7 separate regions of the Homo sapiens genome follow, and all the other regions are linked to region 1. The links are contacts of gene promoters, found by promoter capture Hi-C in blood cells and fetal thymus (Javierre and others, 2016). All regions are on one chromosome and are shown on one strand. The core of a region is centred on a gene start or on the middle of the fragment in contact, and the rest is flanking DNA. Distances in the headings are between cores, read along the strand shown.

What was found. The method cuts DNA at HindIII sites, captures the fragments that hold promoters and counts their contacts. A CHiCAGO score of 5 or more calls a contact.
Region 2: a contact is called between a fragment that was not itself captured here and the fragment with the promoter of SRP19 in region 1, in 2 of 17 cell types (fetal thymus and activated CD4 T cells). The highest score is 9.3, in fetal thymus.
Region 3: the fragment with the promoter of TMED7 here is called in contact with the fragment with the promoter of SRP19 in region 1 in 7 of 17 cell types (total CD4 T cells, naive CD4 T cells, non-activated CD4 T cells and 4 more); the score reaches 13.3 in total CD4 T cells.
Region 4: a fragment that was not itself captured here is called in contact with the fragment with the promoter of SRP19 in region 1 in 7 of 17 cell types (total CD4 T cells, total B cells, naive CD8 T cells and 4 more); the score reaches 9.3 in total CD4 T cells.
Region 5: a fragment that was not itself captured here is called in contact with the fragment with the promoter of SRP19 in region 1 in 1 of 17 cell types (M0 macrophages); the score reaches 7.1 in M0 macrophages.
Region 6: a contact is called between a fragment that was not itself captured here and the fragment with the promoter of SRP19 in region 1, in 1 of 17 cell types (total CD4 T cells). The highest score is 7.4, in total CD4 T cells.
Region 7: a contact is called between a fragment that was not itself captured here and the fragment with the promoter of SRP19 in region 1, in 1 of 17 cell types (fetal thymus). The highest score is 5.4, in fetal thymus.

What each region holds. Positions count from the first base shown.
Region 1 is chr5:112,859,086-112,863,329 of GRCh38, forward strand. It overlaps SRP19 (signal recognition particle 19), which reads left to right and starts at 2,202. Exons shown (of 5, transcript NM_003135.3): 1 at 2,202-2,332; 2 at 3,423-3,498. The coding sequence starts at 2,292. RefSeq lists enhancers at 1,967-2,261, 2,020-2,099, 2,200-2,499. The HindIII fragment of the contact is 2,166 bases long and covers 2,051-4,216 here.
Region 2 is chr5:115,847,540-115,851,783 of GRCh38, forward strand. All of the region lies in intron 1 of AP3S1 (adaptor related protein complex 3 subunit sigma 1), which reads left to right. Among named protein-coding and RNA genes, the nearest start is that of AP3S1, 7.7 kb to the left of the region's middle. The HindIII fragment of the contact is 713 bases long and covers 1,726-2,438 here.
Region 3 is chr5:115,624,286-115,628,529 of GRCh38, forward strand. TMED7 (transmembrane p24 trafficking protein 7) reads right to left here and starts at 1,751. Exons shown (of 3, transcript NM_181836.6): 1 at 1,316-1,751. The coding sequence starts at 1,507. TMED7-TICAM2 (TMED7-TICAM2 readthrough) reads right to left here and starts at 1,751. Exons shown (of 4, transcript NM_001164469.4): 1 at 1,316-1,751. The coding sequence starts at 1,507. RefSeq lists a silencer at 1,407-1,476 and an enhancer at 1,647-1,816. The HindIII fragment of the contact is 9,571 bases long and covers 1-4,244 here.
Region 4 is chr5:115,604,756-115,608,999 of GRCh38, forward strand. The region is part of intron 3 of TMED7-TICAM2 (TMED7-TICAM2 readthrough); the gene reads right to left. All of the region lies in intron 2 of TICAM2-AS1 (TICAM2 antisense RNA 1), which reads left to right. Among named protein-coding and RNA genes, the nearest start is that of TICAM2, 4.4 kb to the left of the region's middle. The HindIII fragment of the contact is 1,583 bases long and covers 1,032-2,614 here.
Region 5 is chr5:115,272,045-115,276,288 of GRCh38, forward strand. It overlaps CCDC112 (coiled-coil domain containing 112), which reads right to left. Exons shown (of 10, transcript NM_001040440.3): 5 at 3,950-4,025; 6 at 3,172-3,562. Among named protein-coding and RNA genes, the nearest start is that of PGGT1B, 11 kb to the left of the region's middle. The HindIII fragment of the contact is 4,036 bases long and covers 1-3,456 here.
Region 6 is chr5:115,254,459-115,258,702 of GRCh38, forward strand. All of the region lies in intron 1 of PGGT1B (protein geranylgeranyltransferase type I subunit beta), which reads right to left. Among named protein-coding and RNA genes, the nearest start is that of PGGT1B, 6.3 kb to the right of the region's middle. The HindIII fragment of the contact is 3,451 bases long and covers 255-3,705 here.
Region 7 is chr5:115,180,537-115,184,780 of GRCh38, forward strand. No RefSeq gene overlaps it. Among named protein-coding and RNA genes, the nearest start is that of TRIM36, 13 kb to the left of the region's middle. The HindIII fragment of the contact is 1,379 bases long and covers 1,452-2,830 here.

The DNA of each region.
Region 1 (4,244 bases), core at 952-3,451:
GAAGCCAGACATTGACTTCTCTCAAAGGGACAAGGATTTTGGGTGCTACATCCTAGATGGTATCTTTTTCCAATAGAAGACTGTTTTGTCTACATTGAAAAATCTGTTGTTTAGTGTAGCCACTAAATGATACTAGCTAATCATTGATCATCGTCAATGATATTAGCTACATTTTCTGGATAACTTGCTGCAGCTTCTCTATCAGCACTTGCTGCTTCACCTTGCACTTTTATGTTATATGTTATGGAGATGGATTCTTTCTTAAACCTCCTGAACCACCCTCTACTAGCTTCCCACTTCTGAAGCTTCCTCACCTTTCTCAGCCTTCACAGAATTGAAGGGAGTTAGGGCCTTGCTCGGATTAGGCTTTGGGTTAAAGGAATGTTGTGACTGGTTTGAGCTTCTATCCAAACCCCTAAAACTTTCTCCATATCAGCAATAAGGTTGTTTTGCTTTCTGATCATTTGTGTGTTTATTGAAGTAATTTCCTTTTAATTCCTTCAAGAATTTTGTCTTTGTATTTACAACTTGGCTGTTAGGTGCCAAGAGGCCTAGCTTTCAGCCTATCTTGGCTTACATATGCCTTCCTCACTAAGCTTAATCATTTCCATCTTTTGACATGTGAGACGTGTGACTCTTCCTTTCACTTGAATACTTAGAGGCCATTGTAGGGTTACTAACTGGCCTAATTTCAACATTGTTGTGTTTCAGGGAATAGGGACTCCAGAAGAGGGAGAGAGATGGGAAATGGCCAGTTGGTCGAACAGTTAAAACATACACAACATTTATCCATTAAGTTCCCCATCTTATCTGGGCATGGTTCATGGTGCCCCAAAACATTATTATTATTTGAGACGGAGTCTTGCACTGTCGCCAGGCTGGAGTGCAGTGGTGTGATCTTGGCTCACTGCAACCTCCACCTCCTGGGTTCAAGAGATTCCCCTGCCTCCCGAGTAGCTGGGACTAAAGGCCTGTGCCACCATGCCTGGCTTATTTTTTATATTTTAGTAGAGATGGGGTTTCACCATGTTGGCCAAGATGGTGTCTATCTCCTGACCTCGTGATCCACCTGCCTCGGCCTCCCAAAGTGCTGGGATTACAGGCGTGAGCCACCGCACCCGGCCTTAAAACTATTACAATAGTAACAGCAAACATCACTGATCACCGATCACCATAACAGAAATAATGAAAAGGTTTGAAATATTGCAAAAATTACCAAATGTGACACAAAGTATACGCTGCTGGAAAAATGGCACCAAGCAACTTCTTTCAGGCGGATTTGCCAAAAACCTTCCATTTGTAAAAAGGCAGTATCTACTCGCAGCAGCAAGTGAAGTGCAATAATGAAGTATGCCTGTAGTGATGGCACATGGTATCCTTCAGAAGTTTTAAAAGGTGAATAGTTTTGTTTCGTTTTTCCTAGACGGAGTCTTGCTCTGTTACGCAGGCTGGAGTGCAGTGGTGTGATCTCAGCTCACTGCAACCTCCACCTCCTGGGTTCAAGTGATTCTCCTGTCTCAGCCTCCGAGTAGCTGGGATTACAGGCGTGTGCCACCACACTCGGCTAATTTTTGTATTTTTAGTACAGACGGGGTTTCAGCATGTTGGCCAGGCTGCTCTCCAACTCCTGACCTCATGATCCACCTGCCTCAGTCTCCCAAAGTGCTGGGATACAGGCGTGAGCCACCGCACCCGGCCTAAAAGGTGAATAGCTAAGTTTCTAACGCAGAGCACACTGAAACACAACGTCTATAACTTTGCTAGTTCTACCACTACAAAAATCCATTTTGCCAAACTGAAAGCAAGCTCTAGAGCCCAGGAACGGAGAAAAATTAAACGTAAGGAGTATTTCCTTCCCTGTCTAACATATATTTGCATCCTGAACCACACAGATTCCCCTCGTGGCACAGTCTTCGCCCCTTAACAGAGAGTAGCTAGTACCACCCATACTCGCTGAGAAACTGGAAACGAGGGAGGGTCGAAGTTAAACCCTTTTTAGTGGCGGTGCATGCGCCCCACATGGTCTTCCCGGCTTGGGAAAGGAATGAGAAGCTTTCATGATTCTCTCGCGAGAAGGGAAGTCTTCATGCCACGTCAGAGACTAGAGATCCTGGCGCCGAGCGACAGGTGCCGGAACAAACAGGCGATGAGAAATCGCGGACGCGGAACCATTTCTTGGGCAGGACTTCCGGCGGAAAAGCGGGCTGTCTCGGAAACTCAGAGCCGGGTTCCTCCCGGGTTTCTGCCGGGTTTCTCCCTGCGGCTCCTGGGTTGTTGAGACTCTTGTGAAGATGGCTTGCGCTGCCGCGCGGTCCCCGGCCGACCAGGACAGGTGGGTTCTGAGGCGGTGGGTCCTCCGAAAGGAAGGGGCTTGCTGTGGTGCTGCAGGTGCTACACCGCGCTTCTCCGCTCCGCGGCCTCCAGAATGGCCTAGCTGATCCAACTCGCTCTGTACGGGCCCCGCGCCTCTCCCTGGCAGCTCGTTTTTCTGAATCCTGCAGCAGCCACCAGGCTCTTCTCAGGGCTCCTGAAATTCCGACCATAGGTAGCCTAGTGTTTATCTGTACGCGAGACAAGGATTTTGGGTGCTACGTGGACATGATATCAAGTAATATAATCACAGTGTGAGAAATGTGTTCTTTTTAAGTATTGTTGCGTTCAGAAAGGCTCATTTGTGAAATTTTAAGGTTTTTAATACCTCGGACACTTTATATAAGAGGGCGGGCCCATTCTCAGGAACTTTTGACGGGCTGCTCTGTCTAATGTAACAGTTACCCAAGTCGTTTTGTTTCTATTCCTGTGGTTTTTTTCCATCCAAGGTAGTGGATAAAGTTTATTTTTAAATAAGTTAAAGTGAGGTAATTTAAAGAAATAACATTAAGCAAATAATAGCATAGGTGTACCAGCAATGATGACGACTACCACGGACCGAAAGAATGTATTTTTGAAAATACTTGTTATCTGTTGAGTGTAGTTGTCCAGGTTCTTGGCGTTTTGAATAAGGAATTGAACAAAACACACAAAGCAAGGCAGCGAAAGCAGATTTATTTTAAACAAAAGTACACTCCACAGGGTGGGAGCCGGCTCCAGCAAGCTACCCAAGAGCTGTTGGTTACAGAATTTTCTAGGGTTTAAATACCCTCTAGACGTTTCCCATTGACCTGTGCCAGTCTGATTGGTTGAGGGAGGGGGATCAATCAGAAAGAGGAGTAGGCCCGCGGCCAGTCTGATTAGTTGCTCGAGGGGACCACTCCGAGGTACTTTGATTTTTCAACTGCCACGCAGAAAAAGGAGGGGTTGAAAAGGGAGTACCCATCTGATATCTAGGCAGCATGAATTGGCCTTTGGTTCCCTGCCACCCGACCCTTTTCTCCTGCCTCTTACTGCTCTAGTGATACCACTTATGCTATTGTCTATGGCAGGTTTATTTGTATCTATCCTGCTTATTTAAATAATAAGAAGACCATCGCAGAGGGAAGGCGAATCCCCATAAGTAAGGTAAGCAAGATGGCTGGCACCTTGATCCTCGAGGGAATGGGGGGTGTCATCCTGGTCGGGCCACGTAATCTTGTTAGAGCCGCAGGGGGTTCTCTTCACTGCATTTATTTAGGGCTTGAGAACACAGCCAAGAATTGGGGTGCGTTCCTCAGTGTTGGTGAAACCAGAAAGGCATTAATTCATAGCTGAAGGGATATTTTTTTAACGTCTCTTAATGAGCCTTTGTTTGTAAAGGAGTGGGGGCAGAGTGTAGAGTTCACATGTTTTTAAAACAAAGGTTATGACGGTGTTTCCCTTGATATAGGAAATCAAAATTATGACATTGTACGATACATTAATAATGTTCAGAATGTAGTTGAGATTTTTTTAAGTGTGTGAAGAAGACATGCAGAAAGTTCAGCCCTGTTGAGTTTTATTAAAGTGTCATTTGTATTTTGTAATATGACAGATTTAAGACACCTAGGTTTGATGCAGTGAATTCTCCCATGATGAGTACATCTGGGTGGTAACAAGCACTCAAAAAAGAAAACACTACAAGCATCCAGGAAGATTGCTTTATGTTCCCTCTCAGTCACTGTCGCCTCCGCATATGCTCAAAAATACCAGGATGACCACCGTTATGACTTCAACACCATAGATTACTTTTGCTGCTTTTTCAGTTTTCTGTAAATGGAATTACACACTATGTAATTTTGTATCTTTTTTTCACTGAACTTTAAGCTTTTGAGATTTACCTACATATTTGA
Region 2 (4,244 bases), core at 832-3,331, 3.0 Mb after region 1:
GCTCCGGAGATCAAGGCTGCAATGAGCTGAGATTGCGCCATTGCGCTCCAGCCTGGGTGACAGAGGAGACCCTGTCTCAACAAATTTAAAAAAATATATGTTTTTATTGAGGTATAGATGACAAAAAAAAATTACATATATTTACCGTGTACATGTTATTTTTGTATATGTATATATTGTGAAATGGGTAAATCAAGCTAACTAACATGTCTATCACCACTATTCCCTCTTTATTAGCTTTTAATATATATTAGTTTTCTGAAATTTTAGATTGCTTCTGAGGTTGTTAATATCAGGAATAGTTCCTTGTAATATGCAATACTGAACCTGTGTCACAATAGATCTTAATTTCAGGTTTTCCTTATATCAAAGTATCCTCGAAAAACCCAAATGCTTATACGTTCACAGTTTTTATGTGGAGTATGCTGGAAAACTTGCTTTTTAAAAATTAAGACTAAACCTTTTGAATATTTAATTGTAAAGGAGGAAATAAAGTCTTCAAAGTTAAAATGATTTTTGGTTATGAGGTAAGTGTTATAAATAGGACAATGTTATAGGTCATTTCATGGCTTTTCTAAAAGAAGGCCTTACGTGACGTACCTATATTATATTCTTTAGCAAAGTTGTTTTCAATTTTAAGTAAGTTTCTTTTTTTGTGACTGTGGAAAATTAAATATTAAGGCCACTAAGGTCATTCTTGATTTTACCACACACAGATAATTATTAACACTTAGTGTATTTCCCCCCGGTCTTTATTTTTCTTTTCAGAATGTCCCAGTGAATAGGATATACCTTTTAGACATTAATAACACAAATAAATGCTTTGAAGCTGATGATGGATTTATTAAACATTGTGGCTTTAAGATAACTGAATATGTTAATGTTCAGCCACTCTCTTGTTAAAATTTAAAAAAGACAGTATATGGTAATAGCACATTAATAATTTGCATGTCCTAAGAAATGTGTATATATCTTTCTTTTGTATAAAATTAAACTTACCTGTGTAACCTGAGGTTATCAGTGTCCTTGTCTTTTTCGTTCTGAAAGGAAATCTTTGCTAATTTTTGTTTGAAAGTCAAGAGTTCATTCTTACCTTTAGCACTTAGTCTTTTTTGTACCTGTGGATTATGGATTTTGTCACTGCTGTTTTATAATTCAAGGTGATTCTGAGTTGTTACCATCTAGAGGGCCCAGTCCCCTTCCAACTTCTTGTTGTATAAAACTGTCACATTAGGCTAACTAAACACATTTTTTCCTCACCCATCTGCCTTTTCAGCTTTCCTCTCATCAAATCCTTTGAAGTACAATATAGTTAAAACAGCTTTCTTTGCTGAAGAATCAAGCAACTCTTAGAAGGATATTGAAGTGAATAAAGGACAATTCTAGCTAATAACTGTTTTCTTAAGATTCCAAGTGGAGGAAGCCCTTGTAGAGTTAGGCCTCTGACTAGGCCTTCTAGAGATAGGCCTCTGGGAAGAGGGGTGGTCTTTCTGGATACTTTCTGATCTGTCTCTCCATTACACTCTTTCTCTTTTCCTGTCCATATTCTTTCAAGTATTTATTTGTTGTTTGTATGGCCCTATTCTAAGCACTAGTAATACAGTGATAAGTAAGACGGATGTCACCCTTGCCCTGTGGGTTTACATTCTGGTGATAGGAGATAGGCAGTAAATTATTTAAGATTGTAATTAGTCTGAAGACAAATGAAACAGTATAAGGGAATAAAGCTTGATGGAGGAAAGCCTATATTAGATAGGGTCATTGGGAATACCTCTTTGACGACCTGACATTTGAGAGGAAAACTGAATGAGATAAGAGAGGAAGAATATGAAAACAGTAAAGAAAAGAATGTTTCAGGCAGAAAGAAGTGCAGTGTCCCTCAAATGGGACCACACTTGATGTGTTCAGGAATAGCAAGAAGGCAAGCTGAGAAATCACGGGGAAGAGAGGCAGGAGATAAAGCTAAAGAGAACGATGGGGACAGATCATGCCTGTATGCCACACCATGCCCCTTCTTGACATAATTCAGTTTGATGACATCATGCCCAGCATGTTCTCCACAAGAGGAGATACTCCTCTTTGAATCACACTTGCATTTTGCCATTTAAACAGTGCCTCTGCAGAAGGGGCAGTGAGGCTCTCCTCTGATTGGTTACTTTCTTCTCTACCCAGTTATTGTTAGGCTCTGTAAAGAAGGTGTTGCTAGGCCAGTGAATGAAGGTAAAAGTCAGTGCATCAAAACCAGGCATGGTGTGTGCCTATAGTCCCAGCTACTTGGGAGGGTAAGGTGGGAGGATTGCCTGAGCCCAGGAGTTGAGGCTATGCTAGGCAACCATAGCAGGGCCCCTGTCTTCTAAAAAAAAAACAAAAACAAAGGAAACAAAAAACATGAGTGCTCCAGTTCTGTATAGCCTCTCTATCAATGAGACCTGTGATCAAGCTTTCGTAAGTCACCTGTGAAGTAACAGAACTCAAGAAGAAAACCATTTTTTTCTTAGCTTATTGTCTTAATTATATGTGAATAGAGTTTATGTGAAGCCCACTAGACCCACCTCTATTGTACTGAAAAGCATTTACATTTTTCCACTCTTGCAAGCCTGGTGTAATTACAAGAATCACTTGCTGTCAGTCACAGTTCTCTTTGTTACTCAGGAGGAAAGGGCTATCTTTTAATATTCCAGACCCACTGAATTGTTTTGATTACCTTGTGCTTACTGAGGAAGAGTACTAGTTGATTCTACCGCATACATATCCTATTTCCTGTCATTAATATATCTTAGTGTGACATGAAAGGGTTATAAAATAAATTTTATTGTAGTAAAAAATATATAACAAAATTTATCATTTTAACAGTTGCAAGTGTACAGTTTTGTGGCATGAAGTATATTCACATTGTTGTGTCACCATCACCACCCATCCATCTGTAGAACTTAGTCTTTCCCAACAGAAACTTCTTACACATTAAACACTAACTTCCTATTCTCCCCTTCTCCTAGTACCTGGCAAACACCATTCTACTTTGTGTCTCTATGAATTTGACTGCTCTAAAAACCTCATATAGGAGGAATCATAGAATTTTTGTGTTTTGGAAACTGGCTTTTCTTTTAGCACGTCTTCGAAGTTCACTCATGTTATGTAGCATGTATCAAAATTTCCGTAATTTTTAAGGCGGAATAATATTTCATTGTATGTGTGTACATACCATCGACCTAAAAGGAAGAGGCTGAAGCACAAAATAGGATTCAAAGAGTTTACTTGAGCCAAAATGAGAACAGTTGCCTGGGAGACTCAGACTCAAGTATCCTTGGATATGAGCTCCCTTTGGCCATTGTTACAAGCAGGTTTGTGAAGGCATTAAATAAAGGGGACATGGAGTGGGCTGATACTAAGTTGTCTGTCAGGAATTCTCACTAGTTTATAGAAATAACTTTGGTTAATGATTGACTAACATTGTTGAGATGCAGGGAGTAGTTTATAGTGTGTGGTGCAGCATTATTAGGTTATTTTCTAGTTACTTGTGGCAGTATAAAGCAGTTTCAATAGATAAATATTTCTCATAGCTCAAAGGAGAGAAGTAGGATGTGATTGCTGTCACATTTTAATGCCTTTCTGGGCCAGATCATTTAAAAGGACTTGCATTCCTCAGATAAAAGTTTCTTTCTTGATGCCGTATTTTGTTTATCCGTTTGTCAGTGGAAACTTGGGTTGCTTCCATCCTTTGGCTATTATGAATAATGCTGTGAACATAGATGTACTGATATCTGTTTGAGTGCCTGCTTTTACTTTTTATAGGTACATACCCAGAAGTGGAATTGTTAGATTATATGGTAATTTTATGTTTTGCTTTTTTGTGGGGAAGCGGCACATCATTTTCCACAGTGGCTGTACCATTTTACATTCCCACCAGCAATGCACAAAGGTTCTAGTTTCTCTACATCCACGTTATTTTTTGTTTTTTGAAAATAGCCATCTTAATGTTTATGAAGTGGTGCCTCATTATGGTTTTGATTTGCATTTCTTTAGTGACTAGTGCTGTTGTGGGTCTGTTTGTGTGTTTATTGACCATTTGTATGTCTTTGGAAAAATATCTATTTGAGTCTTTTGCCCATTTTAATATTCAGTTGTTTGTTTTTGTTGTTAAGTTGTAGGAGTTTTAAAAATATATTCTAGATATCAGTCTCCTGTTGTATATATGATTTGCAAATATTTTCTCTGATTCTGTGGTTGCCTTTTTACTCTGTTGA
Region 3 (4,244 bases), core at 501-3,000, 2.8 Mb after region 1:
CCCTCCCTGACCCACTATAGCCAAATCATTACCAAGTCCTGTTGATTCTACCTACTACCTTCTCTCCAATCCTTTCACTTTTCATTTACCCCACTGCTATCACTCTACTCTAAGCCACTATCATTTCTTGTCTAGACCACCATAATAACCTCCTAATCAGCCTTCCACATCCGCTCTGCAACATCTTACCATCACTTCTCTACCTGCACAAGTTATTATTAATGCAGCTACCAAGAATATTCTCGTCATATCACTGAACTGCTTATAACCCTCTGATGGCTTCCTACACTTTCAGGAAAAACAAATCCTTAACATGGTCAGCAAGACACTATCTGGCCTGCCCCTGCTGACCCCCTTGCTCTGGCTCCTTATTCCCAACCATATTGGACCTCTCTCTATGGCCCTGAAATTCTCAGTGTTCACTACTACCACAGGCTATTCCCCCTCCTCCCTTACCAAGGTGTTTATAGCTCATCCTTTAAAGTTCAGCTTAAAATAATTTTCCAAAGGAAGTCTTCCTTCATGGATCCTACTTACTGCTCTTAAGGCACAGTTCTGATGAATGAGCAGATACCAGTTAAGAAAAGCAGGGTGAGAGGGGAATCATGAATGATGGCAGTGACCCTATCTGTTTCGACCACTTCTGTACCACTGGCACCTAGTATTCAATAGCTACTCAAATGTTAAATGCGCCTACCAACCAAAATTGAAGCTCAGTAAAGACTGTTCTAACCAACCGAATAAACCACATTCTGTTAAAGTTTCTTTTTTATATAATCCCAAATATCAGAAGGGGCCTCTCATTTATCACAGCAATTCTTTCTACAACTCCCTTGGCAAATGGCCGTTCAACCTGTAATGGAGCTCTTCCAATGACAAGGACCGTATTAACCAACAGTCCTAATATTGGTAAAACTGAAAAGCAATGAAGTTAGACATTGGCAGCACTCCAAATCCAATTAAATTGGAGGTGTGGATTAGAGAGTAGAGGGTTGACACTGGGTACTACAGAGTATAAATGATTTTCTTTAAGGGAATCTTTTAAGGAAGAAAGTTCAATAGGCCTTAAAAATGAGATGGAAAGAAATGCTAAAGGGAGCATTTCTGGAATTCATATATTTTAACACCCGGTCTTAACATCTCTCACCCAAGGTTTATTAGAGGAAAGTCAAATGCTGGGCATCAGCTACCTAGAAGCGATTTTTGAATTAGCCTAAGAACGGGGAAACACGGACAGGAAAGTGCCATCCCTCAAGTTACACCCCCAATCCTGGAGCCGCGAGTTGGGGCCCAGGGACTGCTAGGCCCCTGATACCTGGAACTCCAGGGTGCACTTGGTGCCCTGAGCGATGTCCTCGTAGAAGCACTGCTTGGCGTTGTCAGGAAGCTCGAAGGTGATCTCAGAGGCGCCGCCGGGTCCAGGCACCAGTAGCAGCAGTGCGAGCAGCCTGCACCCCCAACGGCCCGCGACGGCCGCCCAGCGCTGCGCGGACCCCGGCCGCGGCATCCCGAGAAGGCGGCGGCGGCCTCAACCGAGCTGCGAGACGCAGGGTCAGGTCTGCGCGGACTCACCGCGCGCGGCAGGCCTCAGCGCAGGCCACCCCGCAAAGATACACAGCAGAGCAGGTTCACGCCTGTGGGAGATTCGGGATCAGAGCGACCCTCCGGCTTCCTGTGAGGGGCGCAGACGGGCGGACCTGGGGAGGTAAAAGAGAAGCGGAAAAGGCCTGAGAGGGTCGGAAGTGGGGATTAGCCTTTCGGGGGGTGAAGGGGCGGAGCCTGAGACACCGGCTCCCGTGACCCGGATGCGTTCTTCTCCGGGAACACGCGTTGGAGTGCGTACGTGGAAGCCCGCGAGGCGTTGGCTCTGCCTCCGTTGCAGCCTGGGACGAGGGGCGGGGCCAGAGTCGTGGGCGGAGAGGGGCGAGACCAGGAAACGGGGCGTGGCGGCCGCCGTGGTTACAGGCGGTTGGCGAGGGTAATTACGCTCCAATCACTGGCTTTTTTTGTTGTTTTTTTTTTTTTTTTTTTGAGACAAGAGTCTCGCCCTGTCACCCAGGCTGGAGTGCAGTGGCGCGATCTGCGCTCACTGCAACCTCCGCTGGGAACTTAGCGCTGGGGAGCATCTAGGGAGTGGTAAAGGGCTCATTTTGCCCTAGGGTGCTAATCGTTGGTGGTAGAGCGCTTTGCAATTTGCGGAGTTTTCTCATAAGTAATAATAAATATTTGGGGGAAGCAGCTGGGCAAGGAGCGCGAATTCTAAGAGCAGACTGCAGGAGTGCTTAATCCCTGCTTTGCCACGTACTGGCTGTGTGACGTCCGGCCACTTGCTTAAATTCTCTGCCTCAGTGTGTATCTGTAGAATGGAGATAATAGCACCTACCATAGAGAATTATTACAAAGTACCAATATTTGGAAAAAGTACCTAGAAGTGGTTGGTACATAGCAAGCACTAGATGAACTTTTGTTAAATTAAACGTCACAGTGCAATCAATACATTACATACCACAAGATAGGCAAAAATTTTAAGTGTAACAATAACAGATATTGGTCGACTTATAGAGCCACAAAACCTCTTATACACTGCTAGTGAAAAAGTAAATTGGTTAATCAAGTTGGAAAACAATGTGCCATTATCTAATAAAGTAGAATATATGTATACACACACAGAACACACACACCTATATACAGTGTGTGTGTGTGTGTGTGTATATATGTATATATATATATATATATATAGCCTGGAATATGTAGCCACAGCCTGGAAATTCCATTTTACATATATTTATGGAGTATATGCTTTAGAGCAGTGGTTCTCAAGTGTTGCTCTGAAGTCCCCAGAAGCCTCCTGAAACCCTTTCAGAGGGTATGTAATGATCTGTATGAAGCTGGATTTTCATTATATATTTCAACCAAAACAGCATAACAGATTGAATATCAAAGGAAATGAGCACCCAGCTTCTTCCTTAAATCTAGATATGAAAGATTTACAAAAATAAGGTCACTCTTCTTGCTAAATTTTTATTTCGAAAATATTTTTATTAAAAGATGTGTTATTTATGTAAATGTGTGCAGTGAGTTGAATTGTGTCCCCCTAAAAAATACATGTCCAAGTTTCAACCCCTCCACCCCTGTGAATATGATTTTATTTGGAAATAGGGCTTTTGCAGATGTAATTAAGTTAAGGCCCTCAAGATGAGGTCATCCTGGGACTTAGGGTGGGCCCTAAATCTAAAGACTGTTATCCTTATGGTATGGTTTGGCTGTGTCTCCACCCAAATATCATCTTGAATTGTAGTTCCCATAATCCCCACATGTCACGGAAGGGACCCGGTGGGAGGTAATTGAATCATGGAGGCAGATTTTTCCCATGCTGTTCTGGTGATAGTGAATAAGTCTCATGAGATCTGATGGTTTTATTGTAGTTCCCATAATCCCCATGTGTCATGGGAGGGACCTGGTGGGAGGTAACTGAATCATGGGGGCGGGTTCTTCCCATTCATTTATGTTTCCCATAAAGCAGTATTGTGTTTATAATGCATTATTTGTGTTTATAAACATATAATGCACGTATAATGCATTATTCATGTTTATAAACATTGTTCATGTTTTATAACAGGTAGTTAGCTACATGAGATCTCATGGTTTTATAAAGGGCAGTTCCCCTGAACACGCTCTCTTGCCTGCTGCCATGTAAGACGTGCTTTTGCTGTGCCTTCACCCTCCACCATGATTGTGAGGCCTCCCCAGCCATGTGGAACTATCAATTCATTTAACTTATTCTTTGTAAATTACCCTGTCTTGGGTATTTCTTCATAGCAGTATGAACATGGACTAACACACCTTATAAGAGGAGGGAAGATTTGAGATGCACAGACACAAAGATACAGGGGCAGGGTTGGGGGAGGGGAATGGCATACTGAAGACAAAGATACAGATTGGAATGAATGATATGTTCACAAGTCAAGGAACACCAAGGATTGCCCATCGCTATGGGAAACTAGGAGAATGGCTTGGAACACCTTCTCCTTCAGAGCTTCCAGAAGGTATCAACCTTGGCAATACCTTACTTGCAGACTTCTTGACTCTCCAGCTCTGAGAGAAAAAATTTCTGTTGTTTCAAGCCATCACATTTGTAGTAATTTGTGACGGGATCCTCAGGAAACTAATGCAATATGTAATGGGTTTATTGTTTATTTTAAATGAATTATCAAATATTTTTAAATATCTCAGATCTCAATAAC
Region 4 (4,244 bases), core at 573-3,072, 2.7 Mb after region 1:
ATGCCCAACCTGGCAACAACGTGGAGTGTGACTACATTTCCAAGGCTGGGTTCCTAATATGGCATTACTGTCAATGAGACTTGCTGGCAACCCGGTAACATGATGGTTACATTGGGCAATTTCCATAAGAAATAGGTAGCACTTTGTCTTCACAAAGATAATTCACATTCAAGGTATAAATCTGCATTCTCTGCCTGCAGTGTTTCCACTGGCACTAATATTCTTGACATTTCTGAAGGTTTTATCCATTGCATAGGAATCCCAAAAACATTTCTTCCAACCAGGTACACAGTTTATGGCAATGGAAGTGAATTCAATGGTTTTAACACATGCTTATCTCCTAAAGTAACTAGCTTGATAGAACAGCTGAGTGGCAAAATGAGAGCTCGGTTACAGAGATATCTGGGAGGCAACATCATGAAAAGGTAGGGTGGTGTCCTATAGAATGTGGTACATTAATTTAATAAGCAGTCAATATATGGAGCTGTCTCCCCACTATCAGGATGCACAGGTCTCAGAGCCAAAGGGTAGAAGGAGTGTTTCTGTTCAATAGTATACCTAAGAATCTACGTGAATAATTTTTGCTTCCCATTCCCAAAATGTTGGGCTTGGTGGGTTTAGAAATTCTAGAGTCCAAGAGTAGAACACTTCCTTCAGGAAAAATAATCATGTTTTGATGATTTAGGAGCCGAGACTGGCCCTGGCCTTTTGAGGTTCCTCATGCCATTAAAGTAACAGAAAAGCAGCTCAATGGACTGGCCAGGGTAGCTAATTCCAGTTATCAGAGGAAAACTGTGTTTCTGTTTTACAATGGAAACAAGAAGGCTATATAGGCTATATATGGAAACGAGGAAATTCACTGGAATGCCTCTTAGTGCTAACAGTCCTAGTCAGTGGAAAACTGCAGCAACCCAGTAAAGACAGGCCTATCAACGGCTCAATTCTGTAGAAATGAAGGTTTAGGTCACTTCATTAGACAAAGAATCCCATCTAGTCAAAATCCTGGAGGAAGGTAAGAAGAAGGATTACTAAGCTTGATTATGGTACTTTATTCCCCCAGAAATAAAACCAAAAGATGGTTTACTAGGACGTTCAAAATCAATAAACTTCTAGCCAGATAAGTCAAGAAAAAAGAGAGCAGATGCAAATTACCAATATTAGAAATGAGAGAGGGACATGACATTCCAGTTATTAAAAGGTTACTAAGGAAAGATTATGAACAACTTTATGCCAGCAAATTCAACAATTTATATGAAATGGAAAAAATCCTTAAAAGCCAAACAGTCAAGATGAAACAGATTATTTTAAAAGCCCTAAATCTATCAAAGAAATTAAGGTGTAGTGAAAAATGTTCCGAAAAAGAAAACTTCATGTCCAGGTGACTTCAATGGTGAACTCTACCAAAACATTTAAGGAAGAAATGATACCAATCCTACACATACTCTTCAAAAAAATTCAAAAGGAGGGAATACTTCTGAAATCATTCTATTAAGCCAGCATTAGTATCATACTAATCAGACAAAAGACATTACAAAAACAGAAAACTAAAGACCAACATCGCTCATGGATATAGATGTAAGATTCTAAACAAAATTTGAACAAATCAATGATGGTTGAGAATTTTCCAGAACTGATGTATCAACCCACAGATCTAAGATGCCAAACAAAGCCTAAGTGGGAAAATACAATAAAATCCTCACGTATATACAACACAATGAAACTCAAAAAAAAAAAATTATAATTACAAAGAGAAAATCGTGAAAGCAGCCAGAGGAAAAAAAAATGGATTAGTCTAAATGGAGCAAAAGACTGACAGGTGACTTCTTCCCAGTAACAGTGGAAGTCAGAATACAAGGGAAAGTTATCTTTACCTTTCCAGATAACCATCCATTTCAAGGGAGAAAAAAAAAGTCCTTCAAAAAGAAGGCAAAATAACGACATTTCAAAAAACAAGAGCAAAGTAAATGTGCCACCAGGTGACCTGCACTAAAGTAAATTCTAAACATATACTCAGGCAAAAGAAAAATTACTCCAGATGGAAGCTCAAAGACACAGCAAGGAATGGAGAGTAAGAAAGGTGGCAAATTTGTGGGTAAATCTAAGTCAATATTAACTATATAAAACAACAGTAATAACTTACATTTAAAGAGATACAACATATGTGACAACCACATATATAAGCTGGGAGGAAAGTAAATGGGATTAAAGTGTTCTAAGGCTACTGCACTGCGCAGAAGTCTGGGCGAGTTTAGGCGTTGATAAGTCAGAGATGCATAATGAAATTTCTAGAACAACCATGAACAGAAATATATACAACATCCCATCTGATAGGTAGAAGAAAAAAAGGAGTAACAAAAACAAAACTATCAAAAAAAAAGTAGAAAAAAAGGAACATAGAACAGATAGGACACATACTAATAGTAACAACAATATGATATAAACGAGACACCTCTAAAAACTAAATATACACAAAGACTGAAAGTAAAACTGTGGAAAATGATATACGACACAAGTGCTAGCCAAACGAAAGCTGGTATAGCTACATTAATATCAAATAAAATTAATTTTAAGGCAAAATTTATTAGTGGAAATAAAGATAATTTTGTAATGATAAAGCTTCTTTCAATTAACCTGGAAAATATAACAATTATACATTTGTATCCCAATACAAAATAGAAAAAGAGAGAAATTGAAAGAATCACACAAACACATCTAAAATCATGCTAGCTACATTTTAACACAATTCTCTTAGTAATCAAGAGATATATACCAAAAACAAAAAAATCATCACTAAGGATACTGAAGACTTGAAAATTAATGAACATGACTAAAATGATTAATGAACATAAATAACTGTAGAACTCTTTTCAAGCATCCTAAAATTTATAAAAACCAGCCACTTATTATGTCATAAAGCAACTGTTAACACATTTCAAAGAATTTAAATCATATAGAGAATATATCATCTGATCACAATTCAATTATGTTAAAAATCAACAATAAAGGAAAACTTAAATATTCATGTTTGGAAATTATAGTTCCAAATAGTATCTATGGATCAAAGTAGTAATGATAATGAAATAAAAAACTTTGCAGTTAGTGAATAACTAAAATGCTAGATATTGAGACTTGTAGAATGGAGTTAGTAGTAGGCAGAATTCTAAGATGGTTCCTGAAATCCTTTCCAAGCCCCATATCCATACCTTTGTGTGGACAACGCCTGTTACATTTAGTAAGAGAATATGGCAAAAGTGAAAGGATTTTGCAGATGCAATTAAGGTGCCTATTTAGTTGACTCTGACTTAATCAAAAGGGAGACTATCCCAGGTGACTCTGACCTAACCAAGTGAACTCTTTCTGGCCTTCTCTGAAACAGATTCTAGTCAGAAGTTCTGCTGACCTTAAAAAGGCATGTCACGTTACACTGCTTATATAAAAGAGCAGCCCTAAGTAGCTGAGGACCTCAGTTCTACAGCTTCAAGGAACTAAGTTTTATCAACAATCTGATTAATTTAGAAGAGAACTGTGAGCTCCAGATGACAATGCAGTTCAGCTGACTTCACTGCAGCCTTGTGAGACCCTAAACAGAGGACCCAGTTAAGCCATGCTGAAACTCTTAACCCCAAGAAATTGTGAGATAATAAAATTATGCTGTTATAAACCAGTAAACCTGTGGTAATTTGTTACCCAGCATAGAAAACTAACGCAAGAGATAAAGTAGCATTATCATGGAAATCTATAGCTTTAAATATGTAAATCAGAATAGAAAGTTGAAAATTTGAAGAGCTAACCATCCACTACAATAATATGACATATTAACATAGAAAAGAAAAAGCTGAAATCAACAAAATAGAGAAAATATAACAAAGAAGAAAAACAAAAATATTGGCTTCTTTGTAAAGCAAAAACAATAAATATGATAAACCTCTAGCAAGACTAGTCAAGGAAAAAAGATACAAACAATCTCAGATGCAATATAAGCAATACAAAGGGTACCATCCTTACAGATCTGGCACATGTTAAGTGTACAGGAAAAACACAGTGCTAACAAATTTGAAAGTGTAGACGTAATGGAAAGATACATAGGAATATGCAATCTACCAATATTACACAACAGAAAAGCTGAACCTTATTAATAAAAAGAAATTGAATCAGCATCCCATAAAGAAGACACCAGGCCCCAAACACACTTCACCTATGATTTCTAATAAACATTCAAGGAAGAAGTAATGTAAATGTTATAT
Region 5 (4,244 bases), core at 189-2,688, 2.4 Mb after region 1:
CTCCCAAAAAGCTGGGATTATAGGCACCAGCCACCATGTCTGGCTAATTTTTTTGTATTTTTAGTATAGGGTTTCATCATGTTGGCCAGGCTGGTCTTGAACTCCTGACCTCAGGTGATCCACCCACCTTGGCCTCCCAAAGTGCTGAGATTACAGGTGTGAGCCACCGTGCCAGGCCTATCTGCTCCTTTTATTTTCATGGGCAACATCCCTTTCCTCTGATCATCTCATTTCTGCTTCCAAATTCTCTTTCTAGGCTTAGAATACTTTCTGAGTGATCTTTATCTGGTCAAATATCAGAAGAAGAATTAAGAGTAGGGTGGTTAAGAACATGAGCACTGAAGTCAGACTATTTGGGACCAAATCCTGGCAGTGCCATTTACTAGGTGTGGCATTGGATGAGCCACTAAACTTCTCTGTCCTCATTTTGCTCATCTATAAAATGGTAGGTAGGATTTCTTGCACAGTGTTGTTATGAAGATTAAATGAGTTAGCGTCTGGCACATAGTGCTTCCGAAGTATGTATAAATAAATAAATAAAACAGCTCAATAGCTACAGAGCTGTCTTTACATATGGGTATGTAAAAATTATTTCAAATTCTAGCAGGCTTCTCCATGCCATTTAGGGCATATTCACTGAATTACCTTCCCTCCAAGTCAAGAAACTATTTCCTCATCTTTCTTTATGGTGTATCATTCATTCCACTCAATAAATCTTTATGGTATGTATATATACTATAAACAAGGCAATGTGATAGGAACAATGAAACAATATTAAAACTATACCAAATGCCACCTAGTACAGTGCTACTCAAAATACCAGTCTGCAAAAATATTGGGAATTTGTGTTAAAACGCAAATCAATGCACTGCTTCTTTCAATGTGAAAATTTTCTATGGAAAAAAAAAAGTCAATTGAACTAAACAGTGCTCACTGCATAGTTAATTCTGGTGCAACTATTTTATCCCACTGTAAACCAGTAACAGTTTGCAAACCCATATTTAGTCCATGGACCAAGTCTGAGCAGCACTGTTCTAGGTGAAATTCAACATGGGCATACCACAACACATCATATAAAAGGTGTTAAGTGTCAGTGAAATCCTGAGGGAAGCTACTTATGTTTGGGTGGGCAAGGAGGAGGCAACATCTGATCTGGGCCAATTTTGATAAGCTGGGATTGGAGGGGGAAAGAAAGAATGGAGGTTCCAGAAAGTGAGAACAAGATAAGCAAAGGCATTCAGGCCAGAAAGTTCAGAGCATGTCTGAAAATGTCAGAATAATATCTTCACTTATTAAAAACACAAGACATATTAAAGGAAGTGGGAGATAAAAATGGTAAATTTACTACTCAACATCTTAAAACTCCGTAGATTTAAAACTGAACTCCTGATATTTTCCTCCAAACTTCCCTTTCCTCCTCCAACATGCCCTACTTCAGTAAATGGCACCTCCACTTTCACAAACCCTTCTATCTCACCCCTATGTCCTGCTCATATCGTATCAAACTGATGATATATCAGTCATCAAATATCAGGAAATAGAGCAGATGGGAACAAGGAAAATAAGCTAGAATCTGAATGGTTTACTTTTATCACAAGAAGCAGTGTGTCTGTTTCTTTTTCCTAAAGAGGTGGTTTTCATTAGCAGAATAAACTAGAGGACTTGGTAAAGCACAGATTGTTGGGCCTTACCCTCACAGTGCTAATTAGGTCTGGAGTTGGAGCCCGCTAAGTTCTAATAAGGTCCCAGGTGATGCTGATTTTGCTGGTCTAGGGACCACTTTGAGAATCCCATGTTTTCAGCATTCTGGGGAAAAAAGCCCAAATGACTTATGTTTCAAACATTTTTCTTAAAACCCGAGAAGTCAATTTCCCTACATTCAATTTATTGCTGGGGGGAGGGAGGAGAATGACAAGAACAACAAAAATGCAGCTATTCCCTCTAAAACTTTAGACTAAACATGGACTCAATTATTTCTTTAATATTCCTTGGGTATACCATCTATGGAATAAACACAACCTTTTTGTTAAACCAGGTAAGTCAAACTTCGTCATCACTGAACTCTACAAAAGAAAAAAAAGACTCTGACTTACTGTGGTTCTCAACTAGGGGCTATTTTTCCCCTCCAGTGGACAACTGGCTAGAGGCATTTTTGATAATCATAATTAAGGAGACATTATAAGCATCTACCCGCTGGAAACCAGGGATGCCATCCTATAATGCACAGAACAGGCCCCCACAACAAAGAATTATCTAGCTCCAAATGTCAATAGTATCAAGGTTAAGAAATCCTGATCTAATGCAAAGCCAGAGTAATATTTTTGTAAAAATGGACCTTTTTAGGTATCTGCCACAATCAGGCGTTATTTTTTTTTCTGGGGTAGCTAACATTTTGAGTCTTTAAAATAAGCAATATGGTTGAAGTTTAAAAATCTCAAAGAAATGTTTACTAGTCAAAGCATTTTTTCTACTGCCTCTTGATTTTTCTATTCAAAACAATGTGGCCTTTGCTCGTAAGATGACTTTTTTCAAAAGTCTCAGTGGATCTGGATTGCTCACATTTCTGAGAAGTGGATACGGAGGACTGGACCCATAATCAGAGGCTTTTTGTCCCATTATGTTATTTGTGACAGAGACATGTTTGGCTATGAGGAAGTCCAAATGTTGTTCTATTAATTGGGTAAAATTACTTAACTTCCTTTTTTTATTTTTATTTTTTCTTGAGACTAGGTCTCGCTCAGGCTAGAGTGCAGTGGTGCAATCACAGATCACTGTAGCCTCAACCTTCTAGGCTCAAGCAATCCTCCCACCTCAGCTTCCCAAGTAGCTGGGACCACAGGTGCGTGGCACCATGCCCAGCTAATTTTTCTGTATTTTTTGTAGAGACAGGGTTTTGCCATGTTGCCCAGGCTGGTCTCAAACTCCTGAGCTCAAGTGATCCATCCGCCTTAACCTCCCAGAGTGCTGGGATTACAGGTGTAAGCCACTGTGCCTGGCTAAAATTACTTAACTTTCAATGCCTCAGTTTCATCTTCTATTAGATTGTCGGGGGCGGGGAACTATAAACACACTTCATGGGATTGCTGTAAAGTTAATGAGACATGTTAAGTGTTTAGTACAGTGCCTAGAACATAGAAACACAGAATGAATAATAGCTATTATAATTATTACCTCTTTTTTTCTTTCTTCTAGAGCCAGAAACTTTTGATACCATTTTTCATGCTGTTGAACTTCATCTTGTGTTTTTCCAGGAAGGTGTTCTAGAACTTCTTCCATAAATGTTGGCTTCCCTTTATGTTTGTTTCTCACCTTTACAAAGTTCTGGTGATCATAATCATCCCAGGCACCTTGTCGCCCTCCTGTTTGCTGAAGGAATTTTTCAAAATCTAGTACCTCTTCTGGAAGAGTACTTGGTGTTACTTTGTCTACAGGAACTTTGCTTGAGATTGCTCTGAAAGCTTTCTCTGTTTCTGAATTACCCAAAGCCCATGTGTCAATTTTTCTTGATATGGCACTCAACTCATTATTAGTTGTCTTCTCTTCTTTAATTAGCTCTTCATATCTAAAATTTTAAAAATAAAGTTTGAATAAGAAGACAATCCATATTAACCCTTAATTTTCCATCAAATTTAAGATACCTGACTCTTTATATCATCTTCTCCACTTAACATTATTAACATTTATAAATTTAAGCCTTAAAAGAGTCTCCTCAGAGATAAAAACAATCTTTCAAATTCTTATTTGGGATTTTATAGTAACTAAATATGAATAAAATTTCGCTTTAAATATGAAAAGCCACCTAAAACTGAAAACAAAAAAGATATTATATTGCTTTTGTATAAGACTCAAATACATAATAACAGAATGCATTATATACAAAAATGTACTGGGGCCAGTTATTAAAAAATAAAGGTCAATAATTTTATATTAAAATGAGTTTAAAACATACATCAACCTCTGCTCTTCTTTAAAAGTGTTAATTGCATTTTCAATTTCTTCCATCATTTCTCTGAGCTTCTCAACAACTGTAAAAGAAACACGGAAAATTATTTTGTGCCATTTTCCCATATGGCTAAAAGTTAAATATTAGGAAGAAAAAGTGGAATGTTCTCCTAATTTTAAAATATTTCTTAGCCTAAGGCATAAGAAAGTTGTGCTCAAAAGTGAATTTTTATGATTGCTATTTTTTCTGATTACAGACATTTTCCCTATATACTCATATCATAATTATCTCCATTTTAGAG
Region 6 (4,244 bases), core at 730-3,229, 2.4 Mb after region 1:
GCACTTATGTGTGGAATTTTTCACTTGTGGCTTCATGTCAGTGCTCAAACCGTTTCTGATTTTGGAGTCTCTCAGATTTTTGGATTAGGGATGCTCAATCTGTACCAACTTTAGGAGAGATGAGAAAATAGTGATTTCTTCTCTTTTTTTTTTTTTTAAGGGCAAATTATCGCTCTGATCCCTGGTGGAAAAAGACTAGCAGCATCCATTAGATAACAGGAGGAGATATCAGAAAGTAATTTAATTCCAACCAAAGCTTAAGGGCAAAAACTAAAACTACAGAGATTTGGGTGCACTTCAGAAATAAATATTTGGGAAACATCCTATTGAGAGACTATTACCATGTATTAGACACTGAGCTGGGACATTTCTCATATATTATCTCAATTTAATCCTAACAACACACTGAGATCTATTTGAATTAGAGAGGTAATTTATCTAGGTAAGATCAGGATTATATTAAGGGCAGTGGAACTCCTTTATGTGGGAAGCAGTGTTGTACAGTAGTTCAAAGCTCAGACTCTGCAGTCAAATTTCAAGTTGGCCAATTTCACTAGACTGACCACATGACTCTGGGCAGGATACCTAAACTTTTCTAATCAGCTTCCAATAATTATTTTAATCATTACTATACCTTATACAGTAATTGTGCTTACCTACTCACAATAAGCACGCAATAAATGGAAGCCATTATCCTTGGTCTTTGCCATGATTTGGAGGGACAAGAGTAACAACGACTTTAGGATCTAATCACAGTCTATAACACTACAGGCCTTTTCTATAGACTCTTGGTTGTAACCATTTTCCCCAGAGGAATGTGCTTCTCCAAACACAATAAACCTTTAGACATGGGAAAAACCTCTACATAATAGCAACAAAGTGTGAAAATCACTGCCCTTGGTGGTAATTATGTCTCATGAGAGAAGGTCCACTTTGTTTGTATGCACTCAAATATTTACTGAACTAATAAAGGACCTGCAATACTACATCTAACCCTCCCGGAGAGCTCTAACAGGGTTTTTTGGTTTTGATATAATACATAAAGTAAATGATTATATTTATAGTCAGGTACAATTAAGCATCTACTAATACAGTTTATTAAAGCGTTATTAAGGAAAAGGGCAAAAAGAAGACAGAGACAAAAGTGGAGGAAAACATGAAGGACTTGAGGTCAGACAATGGATAAAACAAAGATCTTCCTGTCAGTAAAAGCTATGTAGTAAGAGAATTTATGCAAAAGGCTATAAAAACAAGTTGGCATTTTTTTCAAAATTAAGAAATTTAGAAATGATCTAGTCCATCTCTTTGATTTTCTAACTGAAGAATATAAAGCCCAAAAAATTCAAGTAATTTACTTGAAATTTCAACACTAGACAATCAAAACTACTCAAGAAGTCTAAGTCCCAAAGTGGTATTCTCCACAGGGGTGCTTCTCATTAGAATCTGCTTAAAAACTGCTCATTAGAATCTGCTTAAAAACAAACGACCAAAACACCACCAACATAACATAGAGATCAAGGTCCTACTTCACAATCAAATCTATGGGTGTAAGGTGGGGTCTGGGCCCTTTCGGTTTGTTTTTGTATTTAACTTCCCAGGTAATTTTAATGTGCAGGCAGGTTTCAGAAGCACTGTTTGAGAACAGTGGTTCTCTACTGGGAACACTGACCCTAACATAATATATCATAATCAAACATTCTTGGTTGTCACAGTGGAGGAGGGAGTTACTGGCATCAAGTGGGTAAAAGCCACGGCTGCTGCTAAATGTCTACAATGCACAGGACAGGTCCATACAACCAAGAATTATCTGGCCTAAAATGTTAATAGTGCTGAGGTTGAGAAAACCTGCTTTAAGGTCATACTCTTATCTGTATACGTTATCTGAATGATCTGTTTGTCATGTTACTTGCTCCTGGATATGAATGCACTCTACATGTAAGTGCCAAATACAAGAAATCAGCCATGTGATGGTATTTTAAAATCTTGCATACTTAATTATTAAGGGCTCCTGAAAGTCCAGCATTTTCAACTCATAGGTGAAGACTTAGGGTGAGACCATAAGGTTTATGAGAGTAACAGAGTTATGGTGAATGGCTTATGTTTATAAAAAGAGGTCCCATCAGAAATGCTTGGCAGACAGAACCAATAAGTCACTTTGGGGCAAATATCTGGCCTCCTTTAAAATAGTCTGGGAAACCATTCCTCTTCCAATCACATCAGAATTCTCAAGTAGTCCTAAAACTGAAAGAGAGAGAATTAAAACAAGCCACAAAAAACACAAAGGAATTTTGGGCTGTGGGCCTCCCAGAGAAATAGTATAATGTAGGGTTTTATGGTTCCTAGATGACTTCTACTTGGGAATAAACTGCTGGGCAACCTGACTCAGCACAGGTGTATAGAGGGGTAATTGTGCGAACACACGCACCTAAAATCAAGCCAATGAAGTTATTTTTACTTTTTTACTTCTTTCAGAGAATATCTGTTTATTCTGTTTCTTCTTTTCCCTAGAACTCAATCTGAATCTGCAGCCTGAGAAGTGTAAATAAGCAAACAATATCTTTCTGTTCACCCCTCTTCTCTCACTCTGAACAATATGTATAAGAAGTTTATCTTACAAGGATGAAAAAGTAACATCCCCCAACCCCCAATCAAGTTGCTTTACCAAAGAATCAATTCACAGACAAGAGGGTTAACCTAAGTGTCTCCAAAAGATGTCAAATATTCCAGGCTTAAGACACGCATACCCCAAAGATTAAATAAGAACAACAAGAAGGATGGGCGCAGTGGCTCACTCCTGCAATCCCAGCACTTTGGGAGGTCAAAGCGGGTGGATCAACTGAGGTCAGGAACTCGAGACCAGCCTGGCCAACATGATGAAACTCCATCTCTACTAAAAATACAAAAAGTCAGCTAGGCGTGGTGGTGGGCACCTGTAATCCCAGCTACTAGGGAGGCTGAGGCAGGAGACTCACTTGAACCCAGTAGGTGGAGGTTACAGTGAGCTGAGGTTGCAGTGAGCCGAGATCGTGCCATTGCACTCCAGCCTGGGCAACAATAGCAAAACTCCATCTCAAAAAAAAAAAAAAAAAAAAAGAATGAAAAACAGTCTATAGTCTGGACAGTGGAAAAAAGAACTTAGTCATACTGATATAAGAAATATACTGAAAACACTAATTTATGAGAGTTGACTAGATTCCCAAACTTTGGATCCCTTGTCCTGACCCTTTCTGGTGCAACCCCATCCTTTACCAAGTGTCTTAAACAAGTGTCTTAAACAATGGACTACATTCCTGCCTAGATACCAGATGGGCCTATGACTACATCATATTGCATCTAAAATTATAAATAAGCATCTACATTAAGAAATAAGAACACAAATAAAATTGATAACCATGTCAGTGAAGAGAGAGCCTTAGATGATACATTAGACTTAATCATGAAGTTAAAATACTAGCACATAGATGCTGCCATAATACTTCGAAACAAATGACTGAAAGACTGCATGAATTCTGGAATTTTAAGCATTATTCTTCATTTATAATTATTTTTCAATGGCTGATTCAACTGGTAAATACTTTTAAGTACAGTCACATATCTGTGGAATTATTTAACTTGTAAAATAGTTTTTCTACTATCATACTTTTTCAATAAGAAACATCTACTGAACACCTACTACAGACTAGATGTCACCACAAAAATGAATAAAGCTTCCTAACCTTAAGGAGGTTACATGTTAAGTGCTATTACATGAATCATCTTCTTCCTTTCTCAACTGGCTCCTTTTGCCTTTTATTATCCAGACCAGATAGCAGTTCCAATTCAAGAATCCTGGGACTCCTTCTTTTTCTTCATCCCCTCTTTTCTAGCCCTACTTCACTGCCTCAGCATCTCTCTCCTGGACTACCACATGAGTGTCCTCATTGGTCTCCCTGGTTCTGGTCCTGTACCATGTGATATATGACTATATATATGACTATTCCTGTCACTTACATGATATCCAACTCATGTTTCTAGACAAGCACACAAAGCTTTCCATGATCTGATGCATGCCTACCTCTTCAGATTACATTCCTACCATATCCCTTTACATTTTGAACCACTACTAGAGAACTAATTGAAGTTTTCTGCTCAACACTCACTTCTCCAGCTTTATTCTTCTTATTGTCCATTTGCAACAACAACAACAACAAAACACTGGAACACATTCTTTAAGATTTAGCTTTGGGATTACTTCTTCCAAGAAG
Region 7 (4,244 bases), core at 891-3,390, 2.3 Mb after region 1:
AAGCCCCATCTCACTGTCTGGAGGTGCGAGGGCAGACAGAAACGAATACAGAGGAGGCGCAACAAAGGGGCTGGCTGCCAGCGCCGGAAAATAAATAAATAAATACATAAGTGAAGGCCAGGAAATGGCAACGGCGCATCTCAAGTCAGCCTTCCTGAAATCCAATAGGTAATAAAGACCAAGCCCCGCGCTTCGGAGATGAGAACAAATACAGGGATTGTATTTTAAACACTCTGTGTAAGGTCTGTTGTATCTCCATATCCTTTTGATACTCAACTTTCCTTTAACAACGACAACAAAAAAAAAAAAAAAAGAAAGAAAGAAAGAAAAAAAAAGAAGAGGAAAGAAAAGAAAAAAAATATTGCCAGCCAGGTTCCTGGACACTCTGACCGTTAGTTACCACAAGTCCACTTTTCTAATTATTTGTTTCGTTGGTTGAGTTAAAGCATTCAGTGCAGGCTTCTCACATTTCTATACTTCTTTTTATAACAGCAGCTTCCCTAGGAGGCTACAGCTGAAATGGCCTCAGACCATACCTGACAATCTTTGCTTCTCTTCAAAAGAAAACTTGGCTGAACAAAATCAGTCCCAGTCTATCACTCTGCTCTAAGGAGTCTTTGCGATTAAAGGCTTGATGTTTTTTCTTTAAAAAGAAAAGAAAAAAGCTGCCAGCAATAATTAGATTAGACACGAATAAGATTTACTACAAAGTTCGTGAAACTACTTTCCTTAAGCAAGTTGGCAGAGTTTGCGTTGCGCTCAGCACCAGTGGGCAGGGTGGTGTGTCGAAATGACCTATTTTACAGGTGTAAAAGAGTTTTGCAGGCTTAATGAGACGTGGGGGTTTTTCTTTTTTGCCTCTTCCTTTTGTCATTTTCTAATTTCTCCACTTTGGTCCAGAAATCCAGAAGCATACACATTTCTTTCTTTTTTCAGCACACCTCTCCGTAAAGCTCCAACAGTGTTGCTCTGTAACTGTTGTTCTACCAGAACTTTGCTTCTTCGGTGTGTTACTTTACTTTATGAGCTGGTGCTGAAAACCTCTTAGAACAAGCAGCAAAAGTTAACATGCTGATGTTCACAATTAGGGCTCTGTAGGAGGCAAGACACAATCATAATGCTTCTTGGATATACAGCTAGAAGCTTCTTGTCCCTCTTAAGTTCTGTAGAACTTCATGTATACTCTTTGCGTCCATAGGAAAACTAGTAGAATTCAACTAAGGTCTGTAGCATCCATAAATGGGTTCTTGCCTACTATTAGCAACACTTGATGGATTACCAGAAAGAGATATTGCTCTAAAAGTGAACATTTTTTCACACCCAGAATGGATTCTGGCACCTGATTAAAAACCACAGTGTTAGAGCTGAACAGCTAATCTTATGTCTGCATTACAAGCAGGAAGGAGGAAGGTAGAGACAAGAGCACACAAGACATTTGTTTCCCCTTAAAAAGCTTCCCCCAGCCCCATCCAGTGACCTCCACTTACACCTTTGTGAGAAATGGGTAATATGCATCCCCTAGCTCCAAGGAAGGCTGGGGAGGTGATTATTTTGTTCTGGGAACATTGCCACTCTAAACAAAATCAAGGATTTGTTAGTAAGGAAGAAGAGGAGACAGATATCGGGTAGAAAGTTGTTAGTTTCTATTAACCTTGAGTAAGTCCATTCAACTTTCAGAGCTTCAGTTTTCTCTTCTATAAAATGACTGGTGTTGACTAAATGGTCTCTAACCCCTTCCTGTTCTTAACCCTAAAATCTCTGATCTGAGGATCCCTTTGCCATCTGGCCGCATTAGCTGCCATTCTCCTCCCTGAAAAGATCGCTCTTAAAAAAGGGCTGTCCACCTGATCACTTGCTACTAGAAAATACTCCAGACAAAATATCCTTATCAGTTGCCTAGATTCCTACCCAAGACCAAGAAAGTGGTGGAGGCAAGAGTTTTAGAGAACATAAGTTGGGTCCTGAGCATTTATTTACACCAATGCCTGGTGGTATTTACCACTCTTTATTGTCGTTGTGTGAAGAACACTCTGGAGCATTAAAGACCTTTCAAAGAAGATAGGCATATAAAAATGAAGACCACATTGAAATTTCTTCTGAAATTCTATGCATGCACTCACTTCAAAGACACAGGGTCAAACTGTCAATAGGTACCAAATAAAAGTTGCTTTATTATGTCCCTTTCTTCTGAAAAAAAGATTAAAATCATATAAATTTAAAACTTCACTCCCTAAAAGAACCAAAATTAAGAAAAATGTTAATTCATATTTCTCTAAAAATAAGAATGAAATTAACATGACAGATGCTGCTTCACAGGGGACTTCCCCACCTAAGAGGAAGATATTTAATAGAGGGATTATATGATGTGTGAATTTTTCACACTGAGAAGACCAGCAATATTAAAGGGTCCCTTGCTGTGGAAAATCTGCTAATTGCCAACTTTCATCAAATGGAGAAAATTCTTCAACTGCTCTATTGCTATGCCAATTATTGAAATAAGTATTACATAGAGATTTACAACATTCTATTTTCTCCTTCTGATGGCAACCAGCATAATACATAATAGCTTGAACAAATAACATCAACAAAATACACAATCCAAGTTTTCTTTTTAATGGTGACACACAAATTGTATTTTTGAAGGTTTTGAATTTAAAATCTGTGAAGAATGTTCAGCTTTTTAAGAGTTAGAGACTGAAGAAACCTAAAATATCTTACTTTTAATAAACTCTCACATTTTCTTAGTTTTTATTTCAAAAATGTAAACCTAAAATTTGACTGATACCTGTATTCAAAAAGGTCATTTTAAAAAAAAAATCTTTTTTGAATAAGCTTTATTGAGGTACAATTTATATACCATAAAATTCACTAATTGTCAGTGTACTGCTTAGTTATTTTTATTAAATTATGGATTTGTAAAACCATCTCATAATCTGGTTTTACAATATTGGAATATTCATTTATTGAGATTTTCTTTAATTTTTCCAAGCAATGTTCTATCACTTTTAATGTTCAGATATTGTACTTATTGTATTACATATTGCAAGGTACTCCTTTTAATATTATTGTGAATAAAATTGATTTCTTGGTGTCATTTCTTGGATTGTTAATTACTGTTATATAGAAACACAACTGATTTTTGCATAAGGTTGTGTTTTACAATGGGGCAAAATTCACTTATCAATTCCAGATTTTATTTTCAGATTCCTTATAATATCATCTGTAATTAAAGACAATTTTATTTCTTCCTTTCCAATCTGTATGCCTTTATTTTTCTGCCTTATTACTCTGGTTAGAACCTCCAGTAGAACCTCCATTGAATGCATGCAGCAAGTGTGGGCATCCTTGCCTTATTCCCAATCTTGGGGAAAAAGCATTCATTCTTTCACCATTAAGTACTGATTGGTTTGGCTACATTCCATGACTTTTGATTTTTTTAAAATTAAGTTAGAAATATTTTTAAAATTTCCTATTGTGATTTTTTTGACCCATGGGTTATTTACAAATGTGTTAATTTCCAAATTATTTCAAATTTCCAAATAGTTTAGATTTTCTATTTTTCTGTGTGTTGATTTCTAATCCAATTCTGTTTTGAGCAAAGATCATCCTTTGAATGATTTTAATGTTTTTAAATATATTCAGGCTTTTTAATAGTCTAATGTGGAAGTCAGCAACTTTTTCTTAAAGGGTAAGATATTAATGAACATTTTAGACTTGAAGCCATATAATTTCTGTTACTACTTGGCTTAGTACGTGTTGCTACAAAAGATTAGCCTGGGACTGGATAATTTATAAGGAAAAGAGGTTTATTTGGTTCATGGTTCTGCAGACTTTACAGGAAGCATGGTGCCAGCATATGCTTCCAGTAAGGCTTCAAGAAGATTCCACTTATGGCAGAAGGTGAAGGGAAGCTGGCATGTCACATGGCAAGAGGGAGCAAGAAAGAAAGGAGGGGGGGGGTGTCATGCTCATTTTAACAATCCGTTCTCATGAGAACTAATAGAACAAGAACTTAACTCATTACCACGAGGACAGCACCAAGATACTCATGAAGGATCCACCTCCATTACCAGAATAGCTCCCACTGGACCCCACCTCCAACATTGGGGATCAAATTTTAACAGTAAATTTGGAGGGGACATATATCCAAACTATATCACTGCTCAACTCTGCTGTTACAGGATGAAAGGGACCATTGACAATAGGTCCACAAATAGGTACACAAATGAATGTGGACATGTTTC